Regions from separate parts of the Homo sapiens genome. Here regions 1, 2, 4 and 5 are each linked to region 3. Evidence: promoter capture Hi-C in 16 types of primary human blood cells and fetal thymus (Javierre and others, 2016). All regions are on one chromosome and are shown on one strand. Each heading gives the region's core, a stretch centred on a gene start or on the middle of the fragment in contact. The rest is flanking DNA. Distances are from core to core; before and after follow the strand shown. Region 1 overlaps KRABD5 (KRAB domain containing 5). Region 2 has its middle 20 kb from the start of ZNF267. Region 3 holds the start of FUS (FUS RNA binding protein). Region 4 has its middle 54 kb from the start of ZNF267. Region 5 has its middle 8.6 kb from the start of KRABD5.

The links. Contacts are between HindIII fragments. The CHiCAGO score rates a contact against its expected background, and 5 or more counts as called.
Region 1: a fragment that was not itself captured here is called in contact with the fragment with the promoter of FUS in region 3 in 2 of 17 cell types (activated CD4 T cells and fetal thymus); the score reaches 5.5 in activated CD4 T cells.
Region 2: a contact is called between a fragment that was not itself captured here and the fragment with the promoter of FUS in region 3, in 2 of 17 cell types (endothelial precursors and M0 macrophages). The highest score is 6.7, in endothelial precursors.
Region 4: a contact is called between a fragment that was not itself captured here and the fragment with the promoter of FUS in region 3, in 1 of 17 cell types (activated CD4 T cells). The highest score is 5.2, in activated CD4 T cells.
Region 5: a fragment that was not itself captured here is called in contact with the fragment with the promoter of FUS in region 3 in 4 of 17 cell types (fetal thymus, erythroblasts, activated CD4 T cells and 1 more); the score reaches 10.1 in fetal thymus.

The regions. Positions count from the first base shown.
Region 1 is chr16:31,719,820-31,725,588 of GRCh38, reverse strand. KRABD5 (KRAB domain containing 5) reads right to left here. Exons shown (of 5, transcript NM_001130913.2): 2 at 2,837-2,963; 3 at 2,236-2,331. Among named protein-coding and RNA genes, the nearest start is that of KRABD5, 9.5 kb to the right of the region's middle. The HindIII fragment of the contact is 1,106 bases long and covers 1,524-2,629 here.
Region 2 is chr16:31,850,630-31,856,490 of GRCh38, reverse strand. No RefSeq gene overlaps it. Among named protein-coding and RNA genes, the nearest start is that of ZNF267, 20 kb to the left of the region's middle. The HindIII fragment of the contact is 1,077 bases long and covers 2,294-3,370 here.
Region 3 is chr16:31,175,840-31,181,657 of GRCh38, reverse strand. It overlaps FUS (FUS RNA binding protein), which reads right to left and starts at 1,519. Exons shown (of 15, transcript NM_004960.4): 1 at 1,431-1,519. The coding sequence starts at 1,443. RefSeq lists enhancers at 244-293, 394-453, 484-573, 1-759, 760-1,521 and 4 more and silencers at 804-853, 974-1,123, 1,764-1,833. The HindIII fragment of the contact is 6,651 bases long and covers 1-1,543 here.
Region 4 is chr16:31,924,922-31,930,434 of GRCh38, reverse strand. No RefSeq gene overlaps it. Among named protein-coding and RNA genes, the nearest start is that of ZNF267, 54 kb to the right of the region's middle. The HindIII fragment of the contact is 231 bases long and covers 2,526-2,756 here.
Region 5 is chr16:31,701,579-31,707,766 of GRCh38, reverse strand. It overlaps the pseudogene CLUHP3. Among named protein-coding and RNA genes, the nearest start is that of KRABD5, 8.6 kb to the left of the region's middle. The HindIII fragment of the contact is 2,676 bases long and covers 3,003-5,678 here.

The DNA.
Region 1 (5,769 bases), core at 827-3,326, 540 kb before region 3:
AAATGTTGGTGACAGTGTGGAGAAAAGGAAACGTTGTATGCCATTGGTGGAAATGTAAATTGATCCAGCCATTATGGGAAAAAGCATAGAGGCTCCTCAAAATATTAAAAATAGAAGTACCATATGAACCTCAATTCCACTTCTAAGTATATACCTAAAAGAAATACAATCTGGCAGGAGCAGTGGCTCACGCCTGTAATCTCAGCACTTTGGGAGGACGAGGTGTGCGGATCACTTGAGGCCAGGAATTCGAGACCAGCCTGGCCAACATGGCGAAACCCCGTCTCTACTAAAAATACGAAAAAATTAGCCAGGCGGGGTGGCACAAGCATGTAATCCCAGCTACTTGGGAGGCTGAGGTGGCAGAATAGCTTCAACCCAGGAAGCGGAGGTTGTAGTGAGCCAAGATGGCGCCACTGCACTCCAGCCCGGGCAACAAAGTGAGACTCCATCTCAAAAATAAATAAATAAATAAATAAAATCAGTATGTTAAAGAGATATCTGCACCCCTATGTTCACAGCTGATTATTCAAAATATATAGTGGAATATTATTCAGCATAATGAAGAAGGTAGTTCTACCATTTCTGACAACATGGATGAATGAACCAGGTGGAACTATGGTAATTGAATAAGATAGAGAAATACAAATACTGTATAATATCAGTTATTTGTGGAATCTAAAAAAAGGTGAGTTCATAGAAGTAAAGTGTAGAACGGGTCCCAACAGCTGACAGGTGGTAAAACTGGGGAGATACTGGTCAAAGAGTACAAACTTTCATTTAAAAGATAAATTCTGGGGATCTAATGTAAAGCATTATGAATATAGTTTACAATACTCATATATACTTGAGATTTGCTAACACAGTAGATCTTTTTTTTTTTTCTTTTTTTTTTGAGACGGAGTCTTGCTCTCTGTCACCCAGGCTGGAGTGCAGTGGCGCGATCTCGGCTCACTGCAAGCTCCGCCTCCCAGGTTCACACCATTCTCCTGCCTCAGACTCCAGAGTAGCTGGGACTACAGGCACCCGCCACCACGCCCGGCTAATTTTTTTTTTGTATTTTTTAGTAGAGACGGGGTTTCATCGTGTTAGCCAGGATGGTCTCAATCTCCTGACCTCATGATCCGCCTGCATCGGCCTCCCAAAGTGCTGGGATTACAGGCGTGAGCCACCGCGCCCGGCCCACAGTAGATCTTTAATGTTCTCTCCACAAAAAACCTGGCAACTATGTGAGATGATTAATATGTTAATTAATTTATTTGTATTAATCAATACACAATGTATACATATATAAAATCAAACGATCAGGATGCACCTCTTAAATATATATAATTTACAAGTGTGGGAAAAAAATCCACATGAAAGAAGGAAGGAAAAGAAAAAAGAAAAGGAAAAGAAAGAAAACGAACATAAAGAACACATTCTCATTAAGCTTCACAGTTAACCAGACAAAATTATAAAATGTTATGAATATATAAGGTAAGAGTTGAAAGTTCACTATATACTGGACAATGTTGTAAGCTTCCCATAGACATTCATTTAGTTAAGAATTCTACATAGTAAGTAATATATTAAATGATTTTAAATCTGTGGAATTTGTGCATACAGAGATTATATTTCTAATCTTAGTTTAGGCTAGGAAAGATGAAAAGTTGAAGTGAAATACAGAATCAGATTTTTTTTTATATTTAGGAAGATGTTTTGCACTCTGATGAATTACTGAGTCTCAATTTTTGTAGGATCATCTGGGAAACCACCATAGGATTAGAAATTAATATACCAGAAAATATGTGACATCTATCCACAGAATTCCTGGGACTTCTGAAAAAAATCCTACTGTCCATCACTCGCCTCACACACTTCTGACATGAGGCAAAACCAGAACTTTAGAAGTGGTTTCACATAGAGGTAGAAACATGCACAGACTTTCCCAGAGCCCCCAAATCAATGGAAGAACAGTCAGATCACGCAGGCCCTCACAGGCCAAGGGGAGCACTTTGGCTGTCACTGTGAATTTGATGGTGGATCACAGAAGGGTAAGGAGAATAATCAGATAATTTAAGAATATGAGACAGAAGATGTCCCTCTGTGACAGCAGCAAGAGAAAGAAATAAACCCAGGTGTCTCAAAAATCATTTCCACTGGAGAACTTCCCAATCCACACTTCAAGGTCTGGTTCTTTCTTAATCTCTGGACCTCTCGCCCATGTCATCTACTTCATTCACTCCCACCTACCTGGCTGGATGGCTACTGTCTCTGCACTCTTCACATTCCAGGGCTCTTTCCTTTGCTCCAAAAAGGTGATCAGGTCCGGCTTAGAGACAGCGAGACCTGTTTTATTAGAAAAAGTCACATGACTCTTGCTGGGAGTTCTTTAATTGCCAGCTCAGTAGGATACTCAGTAAAGAGGGAACATTATAGAGGATCCTAGAAAATTACTTCCCCAAATACTGTTTCCTGTCAGCTTCTTTAGAATATTCAGGAAGCATTTTAAACACAGGAATCCTGAGCTTCACTTCCAAGTATGACTAAATCAAAAATAAGGAGAAGGAATTAGATTTTAAAGTGTGGGCAATGATAGTTTATGTCACTCAATTTTCTAGAATCACTACTAAACTAGAGTGAAGCTTCTACATCACCTCAAGAAAGAAGGCAAATGTCAAGATCAAACATTAGGAAGTCTTTTCTACAACAAACCCACAATTTTTTTTTCCTGGAAACAGGAATCTGAATTCATTCATATAAAGCATAAGCTCCCAAGTGACATTCTACAAAGGAAAGAAATAAAACCCTTAGTTATTAGATATTAGATATTCCAAAGGCAAGTTATCCTCACCCAGAGAGACCAGGTTTCCGTAGTTCTCTAACATCACATCCCCATATAAAAGCTTCTGATCTGAGTCCAGGTGTTCCCACTCCTCCCGAGAGAATTCTATGGCCACATCCCTGAATGTCAACAGTCCCTGAAATAAAAATAAATAGCACATTGACCATGTGGCCATGGGCAGAGTTCATCACTTGACAAACCAAGATGAAATAAGAGAGCTAAGAAAACTGACTGATTTATATGAGTGACCTGAAATATTCAATAAGATACTTTTAAACACAATAATATTTTCTATGTATTCTCTAACTCTGTGGAAAGAGAATGATACAAAATCCACAAAACCAGTGTAGATACTATGCCTATATGGAATATAAAGTATAAAACTAAGGCATCGAGGCCGGGCGCGGTAGCTCATACCTGTAATCTCAGCACTTTGGGATGCCGAGATGGGTGGATCACCTAAGTTCGAGACTAGCCTGGCCAACATGATGAAACCCCATCTCTACTAAAAATACAAAAAATTAGCTGGGCGTGGTGGCACATGCCTGTAATCCCAGCTACTCAGGAACCTGAGGCAGGAGAATCACTTGAACCAGGAAGTGGAGGTTGCAGTGAGCCAAGATTGCACCACTGAACTCCAGCCTGAGCAACAAGAGCGAAATTCCGTCTCAAAAAACAAAAACAAAAAAACAAAAAACAAAAAACTAACGCATCAACATAGGAGTATACATTTTTTAGTCTATATTTACATCATCCACAATCAGTTGTATATAATTCTCAGGTGGAAAAGTCATGGTGACTTAGAGGCATACTTCTGAAATTTTATTGTGTTCAGCAATAAACTGCAGAACTGGTTCAAATGCAGATTCTGATTCAGGAGATCTGGGGCTGGGGCTGGGGCTGCGTTTCCGCATTTTTAACAAGCTTACCAGTGACACCAATGCCTCAGGTCCAGAGGCCACACTTTTGAATAGCAGAGAGGTTGAACACTGAACGAAGAATTCAGGGATGATGTGGAATTGAGAGTTTTATGAAATTTACAGGTTATAACATAATAGCAAGAATAGTAGAATCCTTTTTGAACACTTACTATTTACTAGATGTCATCCTAGCAGTTTTTCATGTATTGATAAAAACCACAAAAATCTATATGAGAAATAATACTATTCTTCCTCTTTAATAAAAATATTTTGCTGACCCTTCCCCTCTCTGTCTCAAGCCTGAAAAAAAATTTTTTGCCAAATATCTAGTATATAGTAGAGCTTATTTTATTATTTATTTATATTTATTTATTTTTTTATTTATTATTTTACCCCAGTATCTAACTTAGAATTCATTTTAAAGGGACATACAGGCCAATATGCAGAGATAAGTAAAAAAGAATGTTCAGAGCAGGTGTCACAACTGAGAAGAAGATGAAAACAGGAAGGCAGCAACACAAAACTGATCAAATGATGCTTATGTCACACGCACATACGTACATAGAAATGGTAACTATACATACATGAAAAGTGACAGAACATTTCTTAATTAAGAAATATTTTAAATTGTGTTAAAACTATATGGATGATGGCTTTTTCTGTTTTTTAACAAACTATGAAGACTAACACATTCAATGACATAAACTAAAATAAGAGCTTGTGTTTCTGAGTCTAGTTCTTTTCCCCAAGTTTTTATTTATTCTAAGTGCTGTTATATTTTAGAATTTTAAGACAGTAGATATATTAATTATATGTTAATTGTTGTTATCTTTCTCTGAAAATACAGAGAATAAAGGAGTGTATGCTTGTGAAATTAGCAAATTAAAATGGAAACCTACAGAAGTGAGGCTTGTTTCAGAATTTCCAGTTTCAAAAACCAGTATTTACGGTCAACAAATGTGAGAGCCTTCACTCTCCAAAGCAACCCACAAGCAAAGGGAAACTAAAGAGAAATGGCAGTCTCTGGATTAAACATGATGGTTTACATGCATCACTCAGTAAATCCTCCCTCCTAGAAACACATTAACAACAAAGAGAAAAATAACTAGTGAAGGAATCTGGCAGAGAGCACCTGAACCAGGTGAATGAAGTTAGCATCGACTGTAATGAGACGAATTGGTATCAATGCTCACGCACTGATGGACCCATAATCGTTGTATATTAGTGGGGGAAAAAAGTAAATCATAGTCTGGGTATAATAATAAACAGAATATGTGGAGGAACATACAGGTGGCCATATTTCTTAAAACTGGCCATGTGACTCTACTTAGAAGCCTGAGCTGAGAATCACTTAACTAAGCATTCCCTCTCAAGCTTCAATATGCATACACATCATTTGGTATTCTGGGGCCCGTGCTAAGTACTGTGATTCTGCAGGTTTGGAAAAGTTCCATGAATTGGCTTAAGACCCATAATCAGTAGCACACAGCTAGAGGAAGCGGGCACAAAACACAGGGTCCCTTACACCCAATACTCTAATCACAACGCAAATACTTTTCATTCACAGCGAGGACCACCAACCACTGTCCTGAAAAATCACATCCTTTGCCAGCCATTTAAAGTCTACAGAGGCTGGAGAGGACAGTAACATCTAAGTCAGCATTTGGAAAACAGCATGGATACATGCATTAAAGCAGTGTTTACTGAGCTTGTACTGTGTGCTCACAGTATGCACTGTGCTGGCAACATCACATGGTGTGAGTTAAGCCATATAAACCCCTGGGATGTGGGTCCTGAGTATCCCATAATTCCCAGCAGGATTTAGATAATGGCCTAGCCTTTCTCTCTCTTCTTCTGTTTCCCTGTCACTATAAAAGCTAACTATAGACAGATGGGAGAGATACGGAAAAGAAGGGTGAAGTTTAGTTCTTAAGGATTTCTCACTGTAGTCTTTACATTGACTTTGTTACTACTTGTGAAGCAACTACTGGGTCTGCAGGAATGGAAAAAGGTTGCCAGGTG
Region 2 (5,861 bases), core at 1,583-4,082, 670 kb before region 3:
TACAGGTGTACTCCACCACACCTGGCTAATTTTTGTATTTTTTAGTAGAGAAGAGGTTTCACCACGTTGGCCAGGCTGGTCTCAAACTCGTGACCTCAGGTGATCCAGCTGTCTCAGTCTCCCAAAGTGCTGGACTACAGGCATGAGCCACTGCACCTTGACTGATTTTTATTATTCCTTATGCTTATGTTGAGCTTAGTTTGTTCTTGCTTTTTTGGTTTCTTGAGGTGTATCATTAGGTTGTTTACTGTAAATATTTCTACTTTTTTGATGTAGGTATTTACTGCTGTAAACTTCCCTCAACACTGCTTTTGCTGCATTTCATAGTTTCCAAAATATTGTGTTTTCATCTTCATTTTTTAAATATTTGTTTGGATTTCTGTATTAACCCAATGGTTGTTCTGGAGCATGTCATTTAATTTTCATGTATTTGTACAGTTTTCAAAGTTCCTTTTGCTACTGATTTTTGGCTTTATTTCACTGTAGTATGAGAAAATACTTGATATGATTTCAATTTTTAAACATTTGTTAAGACTCGTTTTCTGGCCTAACAGAGGGTCTATCCTGAAGACTGTTCCATGTGCTTCTGAGAAGAATGTATGTTTTGCAGTCATTGGATCAAGTGTTCTGCAGATGTCTGTTAGGTTCCTTTGGTCTAAAGCAACGGTGCCTAACCTTTTTGGCACCAGGAACTGGTTTCGTGGAAGACAATTTTTCCTAGGACTAGGGGAGGGGGATGATTTCAGGATAATTTAAGTGCATTACATTTATCATTAGATTCTCATAAGGAGCATACAGCCTGGATCACTGGCATGTGCAGTTCACAATAGGGTTTGAGCTCCTATGACAATCTAATGCTGCTGCTGATCTGACAGGAGGTAGAGCTCAGCTTCACTGGCTCACCTGCCACTCACCTCCTGCTGAGCTTCCTGGTTCCTAACAAGCCAGGGGTGGGTATTGGTCTGTGACCCGACGGTTGGGGACCCCTGGTCTAAAGTACAGTTTAAATCTGATGTTTCATTATTGATTTTCTGTCTAGGTAATCTTCCAGGGCTTGTCTAGTGGTGATGAATTTCTTCAGTTTTTGCTTGTCTGGGAACGTCTTTATTTCTCCTTCATTATGAGGTATAACCTTGCTTAGGCTGTGTTTGCTAGTTGAGGCTGTGGTGAGGTTTTGGTAGGAATGGAACACCAGATAGGCCAGTCCTTCAGCCCCCATGGTGACAGTGGCAGCAGTAAAGGGTTGAGGGTGTCTGTCCTTGGGCTGCTGGGTAGTGTATGTGGGCACTGGTGTTAGTGTGCCTAAGCCTGTTGATTCTCAGGCCTTCAGGAGGCTTGCTCTGATGTCTGTAGTAACAGCAGTGGGCTAGGAAATGGGGCAAGTCCTCAGGCCTCTGAGCAGTGTGTACCGTGTGGATGAGGAGAGTAGTGGGGTTGAGGCAACTTCAGGCTTCCAGGCAGCACTCACAGTGTTTGTGGTGGCTGCAATGGGCTGAATCAGACAGTCCCTAGAGCCTTAGGTGACACATGAGTGTGGATGCTGGTGGTTGTCTGGGTGGGCCCATCCTTAGGACCCCAAGAGTACCCAGATGACAGCAGTGGTGGATGGCATGGGAGATTCCTAGACCTTTAGACAGCATGCTTGAGTGCTGGCTGCACATTTTCTTGGCCTGTTTTTAGGACCCTGGTGGACTCATGCCAGAGGCTACCACCTGTACAATGCTGTCCTCAGGTCCACAAGTGGAATATTTGACCACTAAGGGTGGGAGAGAGGCAGGTGAGGTGGGCCTGTTCTCAAGTCCTCCTAGTGATGCACATGAGCATAGGCTGTGGGCAGGGCAGGGGAAGTCCCAGACCTCTGGAGCTCATGCTAGGGCACCAGTGATGGCAGGCCTTCTGGAGCTGTTATTAGGCCCCTGGGAGATGGGTGCACCAAAATCTCAGAAATCGCCACTAAAGAATTTATTCATGTGCAAATAAATAAATAAATAAATAAATTCACTTACACTGTCTTATAATTATGTAATTAGTTTTGCTAGTGTGTGCTTTGTCTTTCTTATGCATTCAAATTATTGTCTGGATTTACTTGCTTTCAGCCTGAAAAACTTCTTTTGCCATTTTTTCATAAGGTCAGTTGGCTAGCAACAAATTGTATCAGTTTTTATTTACATAAAATGTTTTTATTTAACCTTCATTTTTAATAGCTAGTTTTTGTGGGTATAGGGTTCTTATTAGGCAGGCTTTTTCTGTGAGCATCAGACAAAATAATTTATAAAGAAGTAATTGAAAAGCTTCAGAGAAGGAAAATAAATCAAGACCTAAGGACACTGACTGGATTGAGCACCAACGTCATAGTGATGGCAGCTGGGTTTAAGATGACAGGGAGAATTGTCACTGAAGACAGTAGAAGTCTGGGGATCAAGTGGTCCTGACTGCAGCTGAATGGAAAGTTTATTTTGTATTTTATTTTATTTTAATTTTTGAGACAGAATCTCGCTCTGTTGCCCAGCCTAGAGTGCAGTGGCCCGATCTCAGCTCACTGCAACCTCTGCCTCCTGGGTTTGAGTGATTCTTCTGCCTCAGCTTCCTGAATAGCTGGGATTCCAGGTGCCTGCCATGATGCCTGGCTAATTTCCGTGTTTTTAGTAGAGACGGGGTTTCACCGTATTGGCCAGCTGGTCTCAAACTCCTGACCTGAAGTGATCCGCCTGCCTTGGCCTCCCAAAGGGCTGGGATTGCAGGCATGAGCCACCGTGCCCGGCCTGGAGAGTTTATTTGTTAGAGCCTCAGATATGGCACATGAGAGGTACACCAGCATGAACTCAAACATATTCAGAACTGGTGCCTTGGGGGAAAATCTATAGATTAAGTGCATGAGAAGTCACCACTTCAGTATCAGATGATGTTTGATTAAGAAAGTGTAACTCCAAATGTGGCAATCATGATCAAGGTTAAAGTTAGCACTAGTTATAACATAGGTGTGGTTGGTGGTGTCTCAGAAGCAAATAAAAGTTGTCAGTTGCTAAGAATGTGTTAATCATTTTATTCCACATGCTCTCATGCTGACTGTGTAGTTAAACATCCCTGTAAGTAGAAACAACTTCACTGTAAGCGCTATGTAAGCCTGGTGCAGGGGGCATTTTCTTCATTCCCAAAAAAGTTTTACATAGACTACCTGTAATATTGAAACGTAGGGACAACTGGGGACCATGTGTGAAGGCCCCCAGAAATTTCTTCAGTTAGCAAGGATGTTTGGTAAAGCAACACAGAAATTAAACAAAGTTTGAAACTATAGTTATTGCTTCTACTTTATTGGCAATAACTGAGACCAGACAACCCTCCTGGGCAAAATTACCTAAGAAAACAAGCTTGCACACGTTAAAGTTTGAAACCCATCTGTCCTACACTGATCTTTTCCAGGAATTAAATGTGTTCAGTTTTTCCTTTTGTTGCTCCCCTTTCCAATAATCTCGAGGCCAGGGCTGTCCTGCTTCTACAGGTGACATGACAGTTATGGGCCTGGAGGGAGACGAGCTGACAGTATCCCTTCTTTATAACCAAGTCTCAGGGACCACCATCCACACACACAGACTCACTCCAGGACTCCGCTGGGCAAATGGATGTTTCTCAGCTTTAGTAAAAGTGAGTGATCACGACTTACGTTGGTAGTGGCAGGAGGATTTTCTCAATGATGTAGATAACTCTCTCATAATTTTGTTCTTGTGTCTCACTGAATTATAACTATTTTCAGATAAAAATATAAATTTTAATATCATGAGCACATAAATTTACAGATGTTCGAAAGGATATTTGTAATTTTGTAATGGTATATGTTATAGGTAAGACGTTTATTTAGAAACAGAATGCTTGTTTTTCGGTCATGTAAGGAAAAATTAGCATTTAGACAAAAAGGTTTTTTTAGCAAGGAAATTTTACTTTCTGCAGAAAGGGTGCTCCTTGCAGATGGAACAATGGCAAGAGCACATTTGAACAAGGGAGGGAAGCAATTTTTATTTTTTATGTAGCTTGTCCCTGCTCTTGTGTCCTGTTTTTATTGGCTGGAGACAGACTTCATAATTTAAATTAAAACCTGATTGGCTAATAACTTAAAATTTTTTAAACAGGTAAAAGCAATGGAAAGATAAATGAAAAGAGGAAGTTGTTTATGAAAGGACTTAGAAAAGTAATAACATTCCTAAATAAGGAAGTGACAGGCTGTGAGCTGGGACATGCCTGTGAGCACATCCAGGACAGGTATTTCCGTTAAGGCACAAGGACATAGAATGTACTATGTGCCTGTGAGCATGTTTAACAGCTACATAGGATAGGGCTTAAACAAAGAGTTATTAGCACAAAGTAAGGAGGCTTGAAAGAAATTAGTCTTTAAAAGAAACTATTATTTCTAACACTTATTTATCCTGTAACAAGAATGGAAACTTTGAAGAGGAAACTTTTTACTTTCTGCAATTCCTTCCTTTTGATTTTATAGCTTTTTTTCTTTAAAATTTTTTAACATGTTTTGGTTTAGCTGTTTTGCTTGAGTTTTTAAAAGAAAAAGTTTTTCTGGTTGGTGAAATGCCACGGTAAAAGGGATAGCCAATTGAACTAGAGCACAAATATTGCTTTAATTATTTGGCAGAGTGTTCAGTAAAGGTCTTCTACAATATTATTACATACCTGTTTGGTGATGAATAAGGGGGGATTGATGGGTCAGCTCTTGGAAGTGCCTGACTTCACTGCATTAAGTTTTCAAGGAACACTAAATTTTTCCCTTGTTGTTGGAGACACCAGGTAAAATTGGTCTTGGAAGATGGAGGCTAGATGGCCCTCGGGGGCTGACCCGCAGGGTACTGCATTTTAGGAAATAGTAGCGAGAGCGTTTGACACAGTTTATTATCTCAGGCTGTAGGATTTTGAAAAGGAGCTACCATGTAGTCCATGTTTTGTTGATTAGAGGACTATTTGAGTGGAAAGGGGACAACCTGGGCCTCTAGCCTACCATGCACACGTGTTTAACGGTCACTTTTATTTAGATGCAGATGAAATATTTAATTTATTTTAACCAGCCATTTACATTTTGATATCCTGTTTTAATTGTTATTGTTTGCTTTAGGTTTTTTATTTTTACTGTAGAGACTTTGGTCTTGTTTTTGTGTCTGGGAGGAGTGATAACTAAACAGGCATTAAAAGTAGTAACTTGAGGTGAGTTAGATTTAGTTATATTAATAAGATAGGAAGTAGTTAAAGGGAAGAAAAGAAAAAAGATAGATAGATTACGTTTTTATAGCTTTAACTTGGTAGGGCTTAACCCTGGAACAACGGCCTATGACTTTGACGGTGATGACGCTTTTTTGACTCGGGTATGTGGTGTTCATTCTCTTCTGCTGTGGGAACCGCAGTCTTGGTGGGTTAGCAGCACAAGGTAGGGTTTTTCTTAGGCTGGCTTGAGTTTTTCTTCTTTTTATCCTTTGATAAGGACATGGTTTCCAGGCTGGTGCTGGTTTACTGGAAATTTTAAGAGTGGCACCTGTGCTAGAAGACTTTTAGTTTTGAGGAAAAGGAAAGTGGAAAATAAGTATGTAATTTTTGAGAAACTGATTTTTTTGTTGTTGTTTTAAATGTGCGGATATCAGCCGTGGAATGTAAGTAAGGCAACCTATAGGTAGTTTTTGACTTAAATTTCCTTTTTTAATTTTTACTTATGTTGTTTTTGAGGGAAAATTTGGGGTCCCTCAGAAAGTTAGAACTTTGCATATCCTGGGGCCCGAAGCCCCACGGTGACGCCTCCCGCTTCATTCCCGTTCAATGTAGCCTAGGGGATGCTGTGGCCCTGGCCCCTCTTAAGGTCCCGGCTTCCCTGC
Region 3 (5,818 bases), core at 270-2,769:
ATTGTGGCCTCTGCTCTCTCAGCCCAGACCCACAGAATAAGAAAGTCTCAAAAAAGGCCATTCTTCACTCTTTGACCAATCCCGGAGATGAAGTGGGCTTTTTAGTGCAAAGCCAGAGAATCAAAAGAGCCCTTGGACCCCAAATGACAGAGATCATGCAACTGCTCGCCTTAGGAGGCGAAAGTCAACAGGTACTCGAGTCCCCAGCCCTGGGACTCCAGATGGTTCCGTTTTCTCACCTACCCTGCCTTCCCCCAGCGAACAAAAAGCAACAAAAGCGCTTTTGAAAAGCCCCACTTAAGATACACGAACAAGATCAACTCATCCTCCCAGCACAGGAAACGCGGCGCTTCCCCCGCAGGAAAAGGGAAAGAGGACCAGGAGAGGGTGTGGCCTCGGGCGGCCGTTCTTCTCCGTCCCTATCTCAGAAAAAAGAAATTTAGACCAGGCGTGGTTGGCTTACGTCTGTAATCCCGACACTTCGGGAGGCCCAGGCGGGCGGATCACCTGAGGTCAGCAGTTCGAGACCAGCCTGACCAACATGGTGAAACCCCGCCCCTACTAAGAAACACAAAAATTAGCCGGGCTGTGGTGGCGGGCGCCTATAATCCCAACTACTCAGGAGGCTGAGGCAGAAGAATCACTTGAACCCAGGAGGTGGACGTTGCAGTGATCTGAGATCGCACCACTGCACTCCAGCCTGGGCGACAGAGGAAGACCGTGTCTCCAAAAAAAAAAAGAAAGAAATTTAGGCGGGAAAAACTCTCGGGCCGTCCCCAAGTCCGTTGGTCGAACCCTGACCACCGCCGCCAAACCGTTAAGCTAGAGGGCGGCCCCGATCCCGAGCCTCCGCCCCCAGCCGCGTGGCAACCCAGGCGGGAACGGAGCGATCCCGCCCATTCGCGAAGGACCACTGAGGGACAAGGCTCACACCGGACGCGCGCCGCCGAGTCTTCCGCGAAGGGTCTCGCGACAGAAAGCTGAACCAACACGAGGCGGGGAAGGGGTACCCGCGCCGCGAAGGGGGAGGGGCCCGCAGAGCGCGTGCGCGCCGCGAGTGCCCGGATGCAGCACTGCGACAAAGCGGGCTCGAGCGCGGGGCCGGGAGTTGGGGGAGGCGAGGCCACGGAGAATGGGCGTTTTCCACCCTCACCTGACGCTTCAAACCCCTAAGAAGCGTCCCTCCCAACGCCCACCCCAAGCAAACGGACTGCAAAGAAAAGACTTCCCGCCCCGCGCGCGAGGGCCAGAGGAGCGAAACAAAATGGCGACACCAGCCTCCTCCAGTTACTCTTCTCCGCGGCTTCCCGCCACAGGGGCGCCAAAAAATCCCACACGGGATCGCCGCCCCGGTCCCACTGAAAACGAAAAGCCCAGCTGGGAGGCCTCGGCCGGGTGCGCCGCCGCCGTCGCCTCGCGCCCTTACCTACCGTTTGAGGCCATGTCCGCGCACGCGCGCACAGGCAAGCAAGCAACGAAGTTCCAACACCGCTGAGTACCGACGCCTGGAGGACTGAGCAGCCCCGCCTCCTGCGTCGAAGCTTAAGTACGCTCCGCCGCCTACGCACCGCGCAGGCGCGCACCAAACGCGGAAGAGCAGGGGGAGGCAGGAACGCACTCCGCCCCCTTCGTAGGGCAGGTAGAGGGTCCGAGCAGGCAGAAGGGAAACAAGTTAACTAGAATCATGCGAATACTATACATAATCATATTTTTTGAGGAAGAACCCCTCTCTCCTCGGCAGGACTAGCCCACGATCTATCTCCACCCCCATGAAGGCACAGTGGTACGGCCTGAGTGCCCGCTGGGGGCGGGGCGAGGGGGCGGTCCCGGCGGCTGGGGACGAAACTGGAGTCACAGCCGGGAGTAGCGGGGTGGAACCGAGATTCCTGTGGCCGGGCCCCTTCGCTGGGCCCCGCTTTCACCCAGGATGGCGAGCTCCTGCCCTCCACCCTCTTGCCGCTGTATGGGGCGCCTCGTCCCCGCGGCTCCAGCCTCCCTCGTCGGCAGCACACTGGCCCTCCCTCTCCTGCGCCCTGAGGTTGACTTCGTCGTCTTTCAGGGTTGCCTTGCCTTTCGGCCTTTCTGGGGTTCGGGGATTATGACGTTTGACCTGAAAGACAGCAGGGATTTCGGCCGGGACCCCTGGGCCCCGGGCTCGTCCAGCACTGGGCTCTCACCCGGATCCTCATGGCTTTGCCCCTGGGGAGCCACGGGGCGGAACAGCCCAGGCCATCCTTGGGACCAGAGAGGGTTGACCTCAGATGTACGGTACCCAGCCTTTTCTCAGGGACCTCCTTTTTATTTTTCTGAAGCCCTACCAGGGCGATCCCAGAAATAAAACGTGTACAAGGCTTAAGTGGTTTCAAAATGCACAGATAATTTCCTTGTCATCAGTCTTACGAAGGAAGTAAAGATACCTCCGTTTTCTAGATAAGGAAAGTGAGACTCAGAGACCCAAGTAATTGTGCCTGATTACAGGGCAGCTAAGAGGAGTCGTGATTCGAATCCAGGTCTTGTAACTGCAAAACACTCCTCTTTTTGGTGGCATGAATGCTAGAGTGTTTGGTCGCCTTTTCACTTCCTGTGAGAGCAAAAGCAAAAAGAAACATTCAAATTAACTTGCAACTTGCACTTTCATCAGCCTTGCCTGGAGAAGGCAATTTGAAACTACTGAATAAAACAAGACAAAAGACGTTAATTCCTGATACATAGGCATGCAGGTTTTCCTTCCCAACTTAACCTTTCAGCGGGATTTCAGAAGGTCCTTTGAGGGTTGGACACGTCTTTCTAGAGAAACAATGAGGGCCATGCCCTGGGCCCGCCCACAAATTAAGCCCCACTAAGCCCTTGACTTCAGCCCTAAAGGCCCTGAATATGCCAATATCCACCCCACCGCCTTTGGAAGGAGAGTTCAACTCTCCAGTGAGAGCAAAAGAAAGGAAGTCCACCCTTATTCATGCATTAAGTCACAAATATTTATTTAGCACCTAGTATGTTCCAGGCACTGTTCTGGGCACTGGGTATGCATTCGTGTACAAAGCAGATGAAGTTAACATTTAATAATAAAGCTGACCGGGTGCGGTGGCTCACGCCTGTAATACCAGCACTTTGGGAGGCCGAGGCGTGTGGATCACGAGGTCAGGAGTTCGAGACCAGCCTGGCCAACATGGTGAAACCCCGTCTCTACTAAAAATACAAAAATTAGCCAGGCGTCGTCCGCGCATCTGTAATCCCAGCTACTCAGGAAGCTGAGATGGGAGAATCGCTTGAACCCAGGAGGCGGAAGTTGCAGTGAGCCAAGACGTGCCACTGCACTCCAGCCTGGGCAACAGAGCAAGACTGTCTCAAAACAAATAATAATAATAAAGCTGACATTTAATAATGATATACATTGTGCTCATCTATAATATGTAATAGCTAACACTTTAACAAGACTTACTGTCAGGCCCTGTTCTGACTGAGTAAACTCTTGATTTTATTTTTCACAACAAAAGGCTGATGTGAGGATGACATTTTATCTTTTTTTTTTTTGGGGGGACACTGTCTCACTCTGTCACCCAGGCTGGAGTGCAGGGGCGCCGTCTCGGCTCACTGCAACATGTGCCTCCCGCGTTCAAGTGATTCTACAACTTCAACCTCCCAAGTAGCTGGGAGTACAGGTGTGCGCCACCACACCCAGCTAATGTTTGTATTCTTAGTAGAGACGGGGTTTCACCATGTTGGCCAGGCTGGTCTCGAACTCCTGGCCTCAGATGATCCATCTGCCTTGGCCTCCCAAATTGCTGGAATTACAGGTGTGAGCCACCACGCCCTGCTAAGGATGACATTTTACAGATGAGGAAATAAGCATAGAAAGACAGGCAGTTGACCGGGCACGGTGGCTCACGCCTGTAATCCCAGCACTTTGGGAGGCCAAGGAGGGCAGATCACAACGTCAGGAGTTCGAGACCAGCCTGACCAACATGGTGAAACCCCGTCTCTACTAAAAATACAAACATTAGCCAGGCATAGTGGCGCGCACCTGTAGTCCCAGCTACTCAGGAGGCTGAGGCAGGAGAATTGCTTGAACCCCGGAGGCAGAGGTTGCAGTGAGCCGAGATCGCGCCACTGCACTGCAGCCTGGATGATAGAGTAGAGCAAGACTCTGTCTCTAAAAAAAAAGAAAGACGGAAAGTTATGCTGAAGCTACACAGGAAGTGGCAAAGCTGGGTTCCCAAGCCAGGTAGCCTGCTCTTAACCCCTGCGCTTCAGCAAACATTGCCTGAGCACTGCATAGTATGTTCCAATCATGGGGCCGACTGGATGGATATGGATAAAAAAAAGCTCAGTTCCTAAACCACAGGACCAGCCAGTGGGTGAATGTGGGTGAGACACACAGACCACAAAGTGTACTTGAGTGTAGTAAGTGCCATCACATGGAATCAAAGACTGGAAACCCTGCCAGCAGAGTAAGTCATCCATCAGGTGGACAACCACAGAACACTAAAGAGAGATGGTAACCCTGAAGCCAAGGCTTACTGGATAAGTAGAAGTTTGCCAAGCAGCAAGGGAGGAAAGGCTATAATAGGCAGAACCGCGAAGACAAAGGCACAAGTGGGGAAGACACTGAGGCAGAGTTCAGGCTCCAGCTGTGACTCTGGGCTGGGCATGGTGGCAGATGAGACTCGGCCTCAAAAAAAAAAAAATATGTGACTCTGAAAGACTAAATCAAATGGCCATTTCTTTCTTTCTTTTTTTTTTTTTTTTGAGATGGAGTCTCACTCTGTCACCCAGGCTGGAGTGCAGTGACGTGATCTCAGCTCACTGCAACCTCTGCCTCCCGGGTTCAAGCAATTCTTGTGCTGCAGCCTCCCGAGTAGCTGAGATTACAGGCATGCATCACCATGTCCAGCTAATTTTCCTATTTTTAGTAGAGACGGGGTTTCACCATATTGCCCAGGCTGTTCTCGAACTCCTGATCTCAAGTGATCCACCTGCCTCGAATGTTTTAATTTTTTTAACTAGTTGCCAACACTAAAAATAGTGGGCCATTCCAGGCCCACTTCCATAGGGCAAGGGTCAGCTGGAGTGAGACACTGTCACCTTTAGCTGCCATATGTGCTTTAAGTTCACCATAAATGTCTTATTTACTTCCTATCTCTGACAGGAAAGTCAATGTTAAATTTTTCTTTTTTGAGACAGGGTCTTGCTATGTTGCCCAGGCTGGTCTTGAACTCCTAGGCTCAAGGGAATCCTCCCAAAGTGCTGTGATTAAAGGTGTGACCACCACACCCAGTTTCAATTAACATGTATATCAGATATTGGGCCAGATGCGTTCGCTCACACCTGTAATCCCAGCACTTTGGGAGGCTGAGGTGGGCAGATCATGAGGTCAGGAGTTCGAGACCAGCCTGACCGACCTGGTGAAACCCCATCTCTACTAGAGATACAGAAATTGGCCGGGCATGGTGGCGCGCATCTGTAGTCCCAGCTACTCGGGAGGTTGAGGCAGGAGAATTGCTTGAGCCAGGGAGGCAGAGGTTGCGGTGAGCAGAGATTGTGCCATTGCACTCCAGCCTGGGCGACAGAGCAAGACTCCATCTCAATAAAAAAATAAACACGTATATCAGATATTGATTTTTTTTTGAGACAGAGTCTCACTCTGTCACCCAGGCTGGAGAGCAGTGCTGCAATCTCAGCTGACTGCAACCTCTACTTCCCAGGTTCCAGCAATTCTCCTGCCTCAGCCTCCTGAGTACCTGGGATTACAGATGTGCACCACCACACCCAACTAATTTTTTTAGTAGAGATGAGGTTTCCCTATGTTGGCCAGGCTGGT
Region 4 (5,513 bases), core at 1,392-3,891, 750 kb before region 3:
GCATTGTTTGTTAGCTGCGTTCCTAGGTATTATTTTTTCTTTTTGTGGCTGTTGTGAACAGAATTGCATTCTTGATTTCGCTGTCAGTTTGGATGTTGTTGGTGTAGGGGAATGCTACTGATTTTTGTCCATTGATTCTTGTATCCTGAGATTTGCTGAAGTTTATCAGATCTAGAAATTTTGGAGCAGAGACTATGGGGTTTCCTAGGTATATAATTATATTGTCTGCAAACAGTTATAGTTTGACTTCCTCTCTTCCTATTTGGATGCCTTTTATTTCTTTCTCATGGCTGATTTCTGTGACTATGACTTCCGGTATCATGTTGAATAGAAGTGATAAGAGAGGGTATCCCTGTCTTGTTCTGTTTCTCTAGGGGAATGCCTCTAGCTTTCACTCATTTAGGATGATGTTGGCTGTGAGTTTTTCATAGAAGAGTTTTATTATTTAGTGGTATGTTTCTTCAATGCCTAGTTTGTTTAGAGTTTTTAACATTAAGGAGCGTTGAATCCTTTCAAAAGTTTTTTTCTGCATCTACTGAGATGATCATGTAGTTTTTGGTTTGGGTTCTGTTTATGTGGTGAATCACTTTTTTTGATTTGTGTATGCTGAACCAACCTTGCATCCCAAGGATGAAGCCTACTCGATCATGGTGAATTAGCTTTTTGATGTGCTGCTAAATTCTGTTTATTAGTATTTTGTTGAAGATATTTCTATCTATGTTCATCAGGAATATTGGCCTGAAGTTTTCTTTCTTTGCTGTATCTCTGCCAGGTTTTGATATGATAATAATGTTGGCCTCACAGAATGAGTTAGAGAAGAGTCCTTTATCTTCAATTTTTAAAAATAATTTCAGTAGGAATGGTACCAGCTCTTCTTTACACATCTAATAAAATTTTGCTGTGAATCCATCTGGTCCTGGGATTTTTTTGGTGGGTAGGTATTTTCTTACTGATTCAATTTTGGAACACATTATTGGTCTGTTCAGGGATTCACTTTCTTCCCAGTTCAGTCTTGGGAGGTTGTATGTTTCCAGGAATGTATCTACTTCTTCTAGGTTTTCTAGCTTTTATGTACATAAGTTTGTAGTTGTCTCTTAGGGTATTTTGTATTTATGCAGCATCAGTGGTAATGTCCCATTTTTTTCTGATTGTTTATTTGAACCTTTTCTCTTTTTTATTTAATCTTCTAGCTAGTAGTCAATCTATCTTATTAATTCTTTCGAATAACCAACTTCTGAATTTATTGATCTATTATATGGGTTTTTTTAAATCTCAGTTTCCTTCAGTTCAGATCTGATTTTGGTTATTTCTTGTCTTCTGCTGGCTTTGGGGTTGGTTTGTTCTTGTTTCTCTAGTTCCTCCAGTTGTGATGTTAGGTTGTCAATTTCAGATGTAACTTTTTGATGTGGGTGTTTAGTGTATAAGTTTCTCTCTTAACCCTACTTTAGTGTTCCAGAGATTCTGGTATGTTGTATCTTTATTAGTTTCAAAGAATTTCATAATTTCTGCTTTAATTTCATTGTTTACCCAAAAGTCATTCAGGAACATGTTGTTTAATTTCCAAGTAATTGTATGGTTTTGATCAATTTTCTTAGTATTAATTTGTATTTTTCTTTCTCTCTGGTCTGTGACTGTGGTTGGTATGATTTTTTAAAAATCTGCTGAGGATTATTTTATATCTAATTGTGCAGTCAGTCTTAGAGTGTGTGTGCCATGTGCAGATGAGAAGAATGTGTATTCTGGTGTTTGGGGGTGGAGAGTTCTGTAGATCTCTATTAGGTTCATTTGGTCAAGTGTCGAGTTCAGGTCCTGAATACCTTTGTTAGTTTTCTGCCTCAATGATCTGTCTAATAACTCTGAATTCGTTGTTGAAGTCTCCCACTATTACTGTGTGGTTATCTAAGTTTCTTCACAGGTCTGTAAGAATTTGCTTCATGAACCTGGGTGCTCCTGTGATGCATGAATATATATTTAGGATAGTTAGGTCTTTTTGTTTAATTGAGTTCTTTGCCATTACGTAATGTCCTTCTTTGTCTTTTTTGATCTTTGTTAGTTTGAAGTCTATTTTGTCTGGAATTAAATAGCAACCCCAGGCTTTTTGTTTGTTTGTTTGCTTGGTAGATTTTTCTTCATCCCTTTTCTTTGAGCCTACAGGTATCATTGCATGTGAGATGTTTCCCTCAAAGACAGCATACCATTGGGTCTTGCTTCTTTGTCTAACTTGTTACTCTATGCCTTTTAATTGGGGCATTTAGCTCACTTACATTCAAGGTTAATATTGATATGTGCAGACTTCATCCTGTTATGTTGTTAGTTGGCTACTATGCAGACTTGTTTGTGTGGTTGCTTTATAGTGTCACTGGTCTATGTATTCAAATGTGTTTTTATAATGGCTGATAACAGTCTTTTATTTCCATATGTAGCACTCCCTTCAGGAACTCTTGTAAGGCAGGTCTGGTGGTAACAAATTTCATTAGTATTTGCTTGCCTGAAAAGGATCTTATTTCTCCTTCACTTATGAAGCTTAATTTGGCTGGATATAAAATTATTAGTCAGAAATTATTTTCTTTAAGAATGCTGAATATAGGTTCCCATTCTCTTCTGTCGTCATTTTGATATTTGACATGACACTAGTCTGGTAATTTAATTTGTGTTGTAATTCAGGTACTCACAGGATGAGATTCTGCATTTGGTTTTCAGCAATCTTGGCCTTGTGGTTACTGGAGATAAGCATCTTCATGGCAGACATAGAAGCTTTAAGGTCATGAACGTGGAATTTGGCATACACATTTTTTTTTCTGAGCTCATTCTTTTCTTTCCCCACTTTGTCCACGGACATTACAAACAACCAGTCAATATTCATATATTTTTATTTTGACAAAAATGTTTCAAAGTATTATAGGCATGGTTGTCCAGGTTCTTGATTCTAAAAATGCTTCATTAGGGGTATTCAATGGCAATATTCTGCACCTTTTTTGCCATGTCATGACATGCACTATCAATGCTCTTATTACTACTGGAAATAATTAATAGTGTCTGAATTTAATCAAATTATTGAGCCCAATACAGAAACTTCAGAACCAAAAAATAAGATTTATCCAGGTCATTCCTATAAAACCACTCTTAGTACCAAAATCTGTATTAGCCAAGATTCTTTAGAGAAATAGAGCCAATGGTATATTGTATAAATTATCTCAAGTTTTCATAACAAGTACCACAAACTGGATGGACTAAACAGCATACAATTATTTTTCTACAATTCTGGATGCTTTAAGTCCAAGATCAAGGTCCTATTATGCAGGGTTGGTTTCCAGTAACTCGTCTCTTCCTGGCTTATTGGAGGCTCCCTTCTGTGTTCTCATATAGCTTTCCTCTCTGTGTGTGGAGAAAGAGCTTTCTGGTGTCCCTTCCTCTTCTTATAAAGATACCATTCCTACCAGAATAAGGGCTCTCCCTTATGAATTCATTTAACCTTAATATATGTAGTGTATAATTCAATACTTATAATACATATTATATACTATATGATAACATGCACACATGCACACACGTGTGTATGTTTGTGTATGATAATATAGTATATAATATACATATACATGTATGTGTGTGTATATATATATGTACACACACAGGCTCATTTGATTATGGAGACTGGCAAGTCCAAATCTGCAATGTGGGCTGAGAAGATTAAGACTGAGATCTGAGAGGGCAATTCCAGTTTTAATTTTGAGGAAAATTTGACATAGTTAATGGTGCAGATAAAGTACAAAAGCGATCTAATGGAGATATTTCTCTTGCTCAGGAAGGCTGGCTTTTTTGTTTTATTTAAACCTTCAAATGATTGGATGAGGCCTAACCCGCAGTATGTAGGACAATCTGCTTACTCAAAGATTACAAATTTAAATGGTAATGTCATCAAAAAGAAAGAGCCCTCCATATTGATATAAGATTAACCCACAGAACCCTAATTTTAATGCCTGAAAATCAGGGGAGAGGGTGTCAGTCATTTGCTGATGTTGTTATAATGCAATAGAAGGCAGCACACTCAGTTTCTTTATTTATATTATCATGTTTCTCTTGTTTTGTGGTACTACAACGCTGGTGGGCTAACACTGGTGAGTTTTTTTGGGCCATGTATTCCATTATGTTCAAGATGACATAGGATATAAGGAATACATTTTATTACTGATTTGTTGGAAGACTTTCCAGGCAATCTTAAATTAGTTCAGGATGTCAGAAGAATCCTTAGTCAACAAAAAAGTCTGTGAGTAGAAACTTTGAGTTTGGAAAGGATGATGTAGACCCTATAGTGTGACAAGTCCTCCACTAGATAACTTAAAGGTGTATATCCACTGCTTGAGCACTGAAGGCCAGGTAGTGAGCCAAGGCCATGGGGACCAGCTGAGGAGCAGGTGTTTCTGAGAATGCAAACATCCTAGAGAGTATCTGAGAACATACCAAGGGAGAGTCCCATGATACACACATGGTAGGCAAAAAGCTGTAAAAGTGCTTAAAAGCAGCTTAGAGATGGGAGGTGATGTGGACTCTAACGCTGTCCTGCTGCCTCCTAGGAGGGTCCCACATGTAAGTCTTAACACACTTATCTACTTGCCAAGCTGGATTGGTCTGGATCATTATTTAGTCTCGGCTCCCTTCCAGATTGTGGGACAGGGAAATATTACAGTCTAAAATTTTTCTTATAACAGACCCATTTCCCCCTGCATTTCTCCACTAACTACAGCTATAAACCTTGAAAATCACACAGGAAGCCTTGAAAGGAGAGCTCTGAAAGGTGGTATGAAGAAGACAGTCTGCTTAAGGACTCCAGAACTGAAGGAATTGTTTTGTGGCAATGCATGTTATTCCCCTAACTCAACTGAGAAAAACAGAGACCAACACTTAGTGTTTTTCAATCCCCCAGATAACAAGAAAACACAGCCCAATAAACTTATTTCTTCCCTGATAGAGGACTTTATCCAACAACAGAAGACCATCTTGGCATGACCTCGGAGTAGAATCATTCAGAAGTCTGCTAACAATAAGAAGCCAGAGAATTGCCAGAAGAATATTGCCTTAAAGGCTCAATGGTCTCCACATCTTAAGGTTCACAAACCCATACAAGTAAAACAATATTTGGACATAAAATGCTAATATTCATGAAATTATTTAATAACTTTATATCTGAATTATTTTATTTTTATCCTCTTATATGATAGTTCATATACCCAAAAGAGATAAAAATAATAGAAAAGATTAAAATTTTAATATTTTCTTCTCTTACCACATGGGATATCCAGTTCATCACCTCTAATGTATGCTCTTCACTCTAAATAACTCTGATGTACTAATAAAAAAGTGTTTCTCCTACATCAGCATGAGCCCTCCCTCTCCAAGGAGACTCTGGAGGGCATTGGTGTTGAGCCTGGACTAGAGAGGACTATGTTTCTCACAGATTGGAGTTAACAAATAAAGTAAAAGATAGTCAGTTAAATAAATTTCAGATAATGAATTAC
Region 5 (6,188 bases), core at 3,091-5,590, 520 kb before region 3:
TATTTAGAGAAGGGCAAGAAAATCATTTCTACAAAAAAGTAAACACTTATGCTTAAAGAGGCACAGAGTTTAGTGGCTACCAAGGAGTATGAGGGCTGCGGCAGGTTTGGGATCCACCAGCTATGTGCCAGGCAAACCAGGGCAGGTAACTTCAGACCCAGTTTCTTGTCTATGCAACGATGATGATGGAAAGTATTGACATTTACAAGGGGTCCAAAAGATTATAGGAAATAATGCTTATAAAGCACTTGGAATCATCCTGGTAAAGTTAGTACCCAAGAAATTTTGGCTGTTACTTCTTCCATGTTACACAGTAAGTTTAGGAGAGATTTTTTTTTTTTTTTAACAATTATTTTTTCCTCATTTCTCTCAGTAACCGCACTAATGACTTTTAAGTGCCAGCAAGCTGCAAGTGCTGCCAATGAGCCCCTGCCCTAGAAGGGCTACAGTTGGGCACCATGTGCTCAGGGGAGGGCCCCATGGCAGTCAGTGGAGGGTGGGAAGCTGGATGGCCCTGGCCACTCAGCCCAGATAGCAAGGAGGGCCTTCTCCTCCCAAGGACTCAAAGTCTCAGAGGCCGGAGAAAGGTGGGGGATGGTCTCCCAGGAAGCAGAATGCTAGAAGGCCTTGCAGGGCAAACCTGACGGGCCTTCAGGGCACCTGACAGGGCTGGGACTGCCGGCTTCCCTCACTTCTCTCCCGAGCACAAGAAAACCTTCCAGCAGGAGCCAGGTGGGCCTGAGGCTGTGAGGCTGTCACTCACTTACCAGGGGATTCAGGCACCTTGAACATGGCTTTTTCTTGAAGCAGCTGCTCAGGTTGGTTCTTGTTGGGTAGGTCCCTCATCATCTGCAGCTCCTCGTTCCAGTACTGGGGCTGCAGAGGGACCAGGGAGGGAGACATGGGCTCAGCCTGTGCACTGCAACCTGCTCTGGGAAGTCCCTTCTCCTCTCTCCCCACAGACAGCCCCAGACTCCCCAATGAACAGACCTGTGGGGAGCCTCAGGGAAGTGCACAGAACCCCACCTGGCACCCAGGAAGGAAGGGGGTTCCCACTGAGGACCGGGCCAGGCTACAGGCCCCTATGCAGGAATGTGCTCCTCACAGCCCAGCCTTGAGGTGCAGATGCCTCTCCACACTGCAGTCCACAGTGTACTCCGTCACAGGGGCCATCCAGCTGCACACCTGGAATGAGGTGGCCCCCTCTCGAATGGGTGGTACTGGACCTCAAGGCAGGCAGGGGAAAGGCAGATGGGGCCACCCACCAATCTCAGGACGCTGCCACAGGCTCCTTCTTCATCGAGGCCCTCACCTGCTCTGGGTTCTCCTGGCCCTGAGATGCTGCCCTGAAAGGCGAGTCAGAAGCACATGGGCGCTGCTTCACGGCTGCTCTAGCCAGAGCTGGTTCACAGCTCCCTAGAGGGAGACTTGGGCACTGGGGGCCCGGGGACAATTTCTTTGGGCAGAAGCACTGAGTTTGGGCTAGCCAAATCATCCCAGACCCCTGTGTGACATGAAGCGGGGCAGGAGCAGACGGGGCAAAGGCACTCCCCTTCCCCTGACGCAGGGCACAATGTTCTGTAAAAGGCAGTCAGATCTGGCAGAGCAGCTCCCCTGCGAATTGCTTAGGAAGCGGGGGCTGGTGGGCTTGGGGTTGAAGTGACAGGCTGGAGACCTACAAGAAGAGGGTGGTCCCTGAGTGGGTGCCCCTGGTAGGCTGGCAGGGACTCACCAGTTATGGTAAAAGCCCTGTGTGGATGTGGTAATGCTACCTCGCTGGTCCTCGGCTGTGATCACAAACAGGTACACAAGGTCCTGTGCATCTTGCAGTTCCCAGGGGACAGGTACCAGCCGCTCACGGTGAGCACTTTCAGGGGCTGCAGGAATGGCCAAGCATGAATGGGCCAGGCCTCCTGGTGTGTGGCCCTCCACCCACCCGGGGACCCTCTTCCTTGCTCCTCCCTGGAGTCCCACCTTTTAGTCACCGTTCTGGGGTTGCAGGGGACACAGTGGCTGTTCCAGGGTCCCTAGCAGGATGTACTTGGGTGGTGTGCAGTCGGTGGGGTCCATCTCCAAGTCTTTCTGCTCCTGCCGTCTGTGAGACCCAAGGCTGGTGGTCAGCACACAAGCACCCAGGGCCAGCTGCCTCTAACTGTGGCCCTGGTCTGGGTTCCTCAGGCCCAGGCCCCTCCAGGTAGAAAGGCCTGGCCTTAAGCCCCCTTCGTCAGCCTCTGGCCTCCTTGTTCCCTGCCCCTCTGCCCCCTGCCCAATCTCTGGCCCCAATGCCTCCACACCTCTCAGGCCACTGTCAGTGAAGACGCTCAGGAAGGACAAGGAGCTGCATCAGCTGGGTCCAGGCTCCTGAGCAGTCTCAAATGTGGCACTCATCACCGTGGGCCTTGTGCATTGTGCAGGGCTCTGTCAGGAACAGGAGAGAGGAGGGTGTTACCAGGGCCCTGCACCCTGGAACAACCCACCCAGCTTAGTAAATAGTTGGCAAGGAAACTTCATGGATAATTTTAATTTTCAACTTTAGGCTTCCATTTTCAAATTCCACTATGGACACATAAGCTAGAGTTTGGTTTCAATACACACGTGTGCACGTGCGCACCTACACACACACACAAACACACACACAACACACCCTGGCTTGCTAAGGGCAAGAATCCTTGATTGCAAAGAACCTCCTGCCAGTTGCTTCTGAAGCACACACAGGCCTTGGGGAGCCCACAAAAGGCCTCCTGCTTTTTGTGCGCTAGGCCTCTGCAGCCTCACCCTGCTCTCCTGGGGCAGCCTTCATGCAGGGGTGGCCTGACAACTTTCTAGGGCTGCCAAATTTAACGCCCCCATTGAGTTTCATGGGATTTTAATGGTCATTGTTTTGGAGGAAGGGAGAAATTGTGATGAACTGTGGGCCCCCTTGAGCTACAGACCTTTTCCACAAGTAGTCAGGCCCTGGGAACCTGAGTGCTTCACCCAGAGAACTTGAGTCTACGGAAGCTTTTATTTGACAACCAAGCCAGGCTCACTACACCAGCTGATGGTGCTGCTTGGAGCCGACTTCCCCACTCAAGGACTGTGAAACTTTAGTTTCTTTAGGAAACTAAGCACTCATCTTTTCATAATTTAATAGGGCGGATTCCAAGCCCTAGCTTCATACTGCCTGACTTTCTTTTCAGAATTTCAACTGTTTTTTCACCCCTGGGCCATGAAGTTAGAGAGTGCAGGTATGATGCCCTGAAAAGCAGACTTGTGCTCCAATCCCACCTCCATATGCTCATCTGCGAAATAGAGACACCAGCTGGGGCAGTGCAGTGTTGCCCGGCCCTGCTTACAGGGGCCCTCCCTGGGCAGGCTGCCCAACTTCCAGACCAACCTTCCACCACGTGGAGCAGCAAGCCCGCCTGCAGCCCTGCCATGCTGCGCAGCTCTGAGACGTGGTCCAGTGTGCTGCCACCCAGGTGCAGTGAGAAGTGATGTGGTGACATGGGTATTCATGGTCCATGAACAGCTGGTGGATCTCCAGCACCATCTCCTGCGGGAACACCTGCCAGGGAGAAGGCCCGGACCAGCCCGGTCAGAGGCCACATGGTAGGGAGCAAGGACATACCCCTTCCCCAGCCCAAAACACCTGGGTCCTGAGAATAAGTGTCTCAAATACTCAGTTTCCCACTTTTGGGCTTTTACATTCCAGGCCCTGTCCATATACAGCATGCCCATTGGCACCTGTGTGCCTAAGTGCAGGACAGAGCCTGGCCCCACTGACTCTTCCTGCAGCCTAAGAGCAACCCCCGAGCCAAGGAGAGGGAGATGGAAGAAAGTGGGGAGGGGGAACGGCAGGCTTGCTCTTGCCCTTGCCTAGTGCCAAGGGCTGAGTGCCCCAGGGCAAATGGCCTTTTCCTTCCTGAAGGGGTGCTCCAGGGCCCAAGCCTGTGAGTAGAGAGGACATGAGAGGGTCTTGCCAGGCTCCCCACCAAGTTACCAGCTTGCAAGTCCTCCGGGTTTGCTCTGTCCTTGGAGAACACCCAATACCACCCTCCAGGCCCCGGTGACAGATGGTAAGGCCATGGCCCATAGAGAGGTGACTTGCCTGAGGGCACAGAGCCAAGAGGCTGGGGCATCCTGGGACCTGACACTACCCACCCATTCCCACTCCTCTCCCTGAACAGGGCTGGTAGGCCCAGCTGGTAGCTGTCCTCTAGCAATAAGGCAGTAACTGAACCCGGACTCCATTCCCAGGTCCACCACATTAGCAGAGTGACCCCGGGCAGGGCCCAGGGCCCTCCATTTCCTGCCTATAGCACAGGGCCAGAAAGAGCCAGGGCAAGGCTGAGTTTTCCAGCATCATCTTCCCCAGCAGGCTCAAGCCCTGGTCCCCAGATCCCCTCCTCCATCATACCCACAGGGAGAAGGGTTCGATCTCGGGGCCAGGATCTCCACAGAAAAGTCCAAATCCTGAATGGTGACTTCTATCTGGTGGTGTCGTCTCCTGGCTTGGCCTCATCCAGCCCATGTTCCCGGGATGGCTCAGCCTCCTCCTTCCTCCTTCAGGCTCCTTCTTCTTCAGGGTCTCCAGGCAGTTCCCATTCAAGAACATGAGTGATGGTGGCTCTGGGGGTGACAAGAAAGGCACTGAGTTGGTTGGGCCTTGCTGGTGAGGGAGGGCTGTCCACCTCACCCCACTTGGATGGACACAAGTCATATGGAACGGTGTCCGCGTGCCCTCCAGAGCTTTGACTCCACAGTCCCAGCTCACCCTCGGCACACCTGCAAGCTGCACCTTCTCCCTTTCACATCCTGTGCCTCCCTCCTCAACTGCTCCTTAGCCCACCACAGTCTGGCTTCCACCTGAGCTCGCTGTCCAAACCACTCTCCCCACATCACCAAGGCCACCCTCAGGGCCAAGCCCCAGGGGCTTCTCCAGCCCAGGTACATCTGTCCACTCACCAGCACCCAGGCCACTGCTCATTTCCTTTCCTCCTCCCTGACCAATGCCACACCCTCGTCCCTCCCTCTCCAGCTCCATCCTCTTCCTCCAGTCCTGAGCTGGGAGTGTTGGGCCCCCCAGCCTCTCCTCATTCTCACCTCACCCTCTCCCATGGCTTCAAAGATGGTCCCATTTCCCAGCTCTCATAGCCAATCCTGGCCTCGATCAGGCCTTTCAGACCAAGGAGGCAGCTGGTCCTGGGCATCAACATGTGGCTCTCCCTTCAGTATCATGGAAGACCCATCCTGCAGGGATGAAATTCATCTTCCTCCACAAACTGGTCTCAGCGTGTGAAGGCCCCCCACCACTTATCTAGTCACCCAACCTCAATTTCCCATCTCCTATTTCAAGAATGCCCCTTGGAACCCTTCTAAGAAGCACACTGCTCACAAAACCAAGCTGCTTTTTTTTTTTGAGATGGAGTCTTGCTCTGTTGCCTAGGCCGGAGTGTAGTGGTGTGATCTTGGCTCACTGAAACCTCCGCCTCCTGGGTTCAAGAGAGTCTCCTGTCTCAGCCTCCCAAGTAGGTGGGACAGGCATGTGCCACCACGCCCAGCTAATTTTTGTATTTTTAGTAGAGACGGGGCCATGTTGGCCAGGCTGGTCCTAAGCTCAGGTGATCCGCCTGCCTCAGCCTCCCAAAGTGCTGGGATCACAGGCATGAGCCACCACACCCAGCCAAAATCAAGCTTCTTAAGCCCGTGTTCTCAGGCACCAGCCTAAAGGCAACCCCAGCTCCTGCCGGCTCCTGCACTTAGGTCTACATTCCCCAAACCACAGAGGACTGAGAATACCTGAAACCTGCCCTCCCACCTCTCTGCTTTTCCATGCTGCCCCTGACATCTCAGTCTGTCGGGCAAACACTGACTCATCCTTCAAGGCCTAGGTGAAAGTGTCTACAGGTAGACTATTGCTGCCTACCTGCCACCCATCCTCCTTCCCAGAGATCAGTGAATGAAGGATGTGGAGCCCCAGAAGGAGGGAACTATGTCTTCTGATCTGTCCACAGCCTTGACCTCCAAAGTTTAGATGTGGATGGAGTAGAATAAAGGCAAACTTCTTTTTTTTTTTGCAATTTGGCCTTGGCCCTAATGGTCAGGCTGCATCTGCTTGAAATCTACAATAAAGAGCAAATAGTTGATAACGTTGTGAATTGCAGAGGGGAAGCTGGCAGTTGAGAATCAGGAGAAGGAAGTGAAAA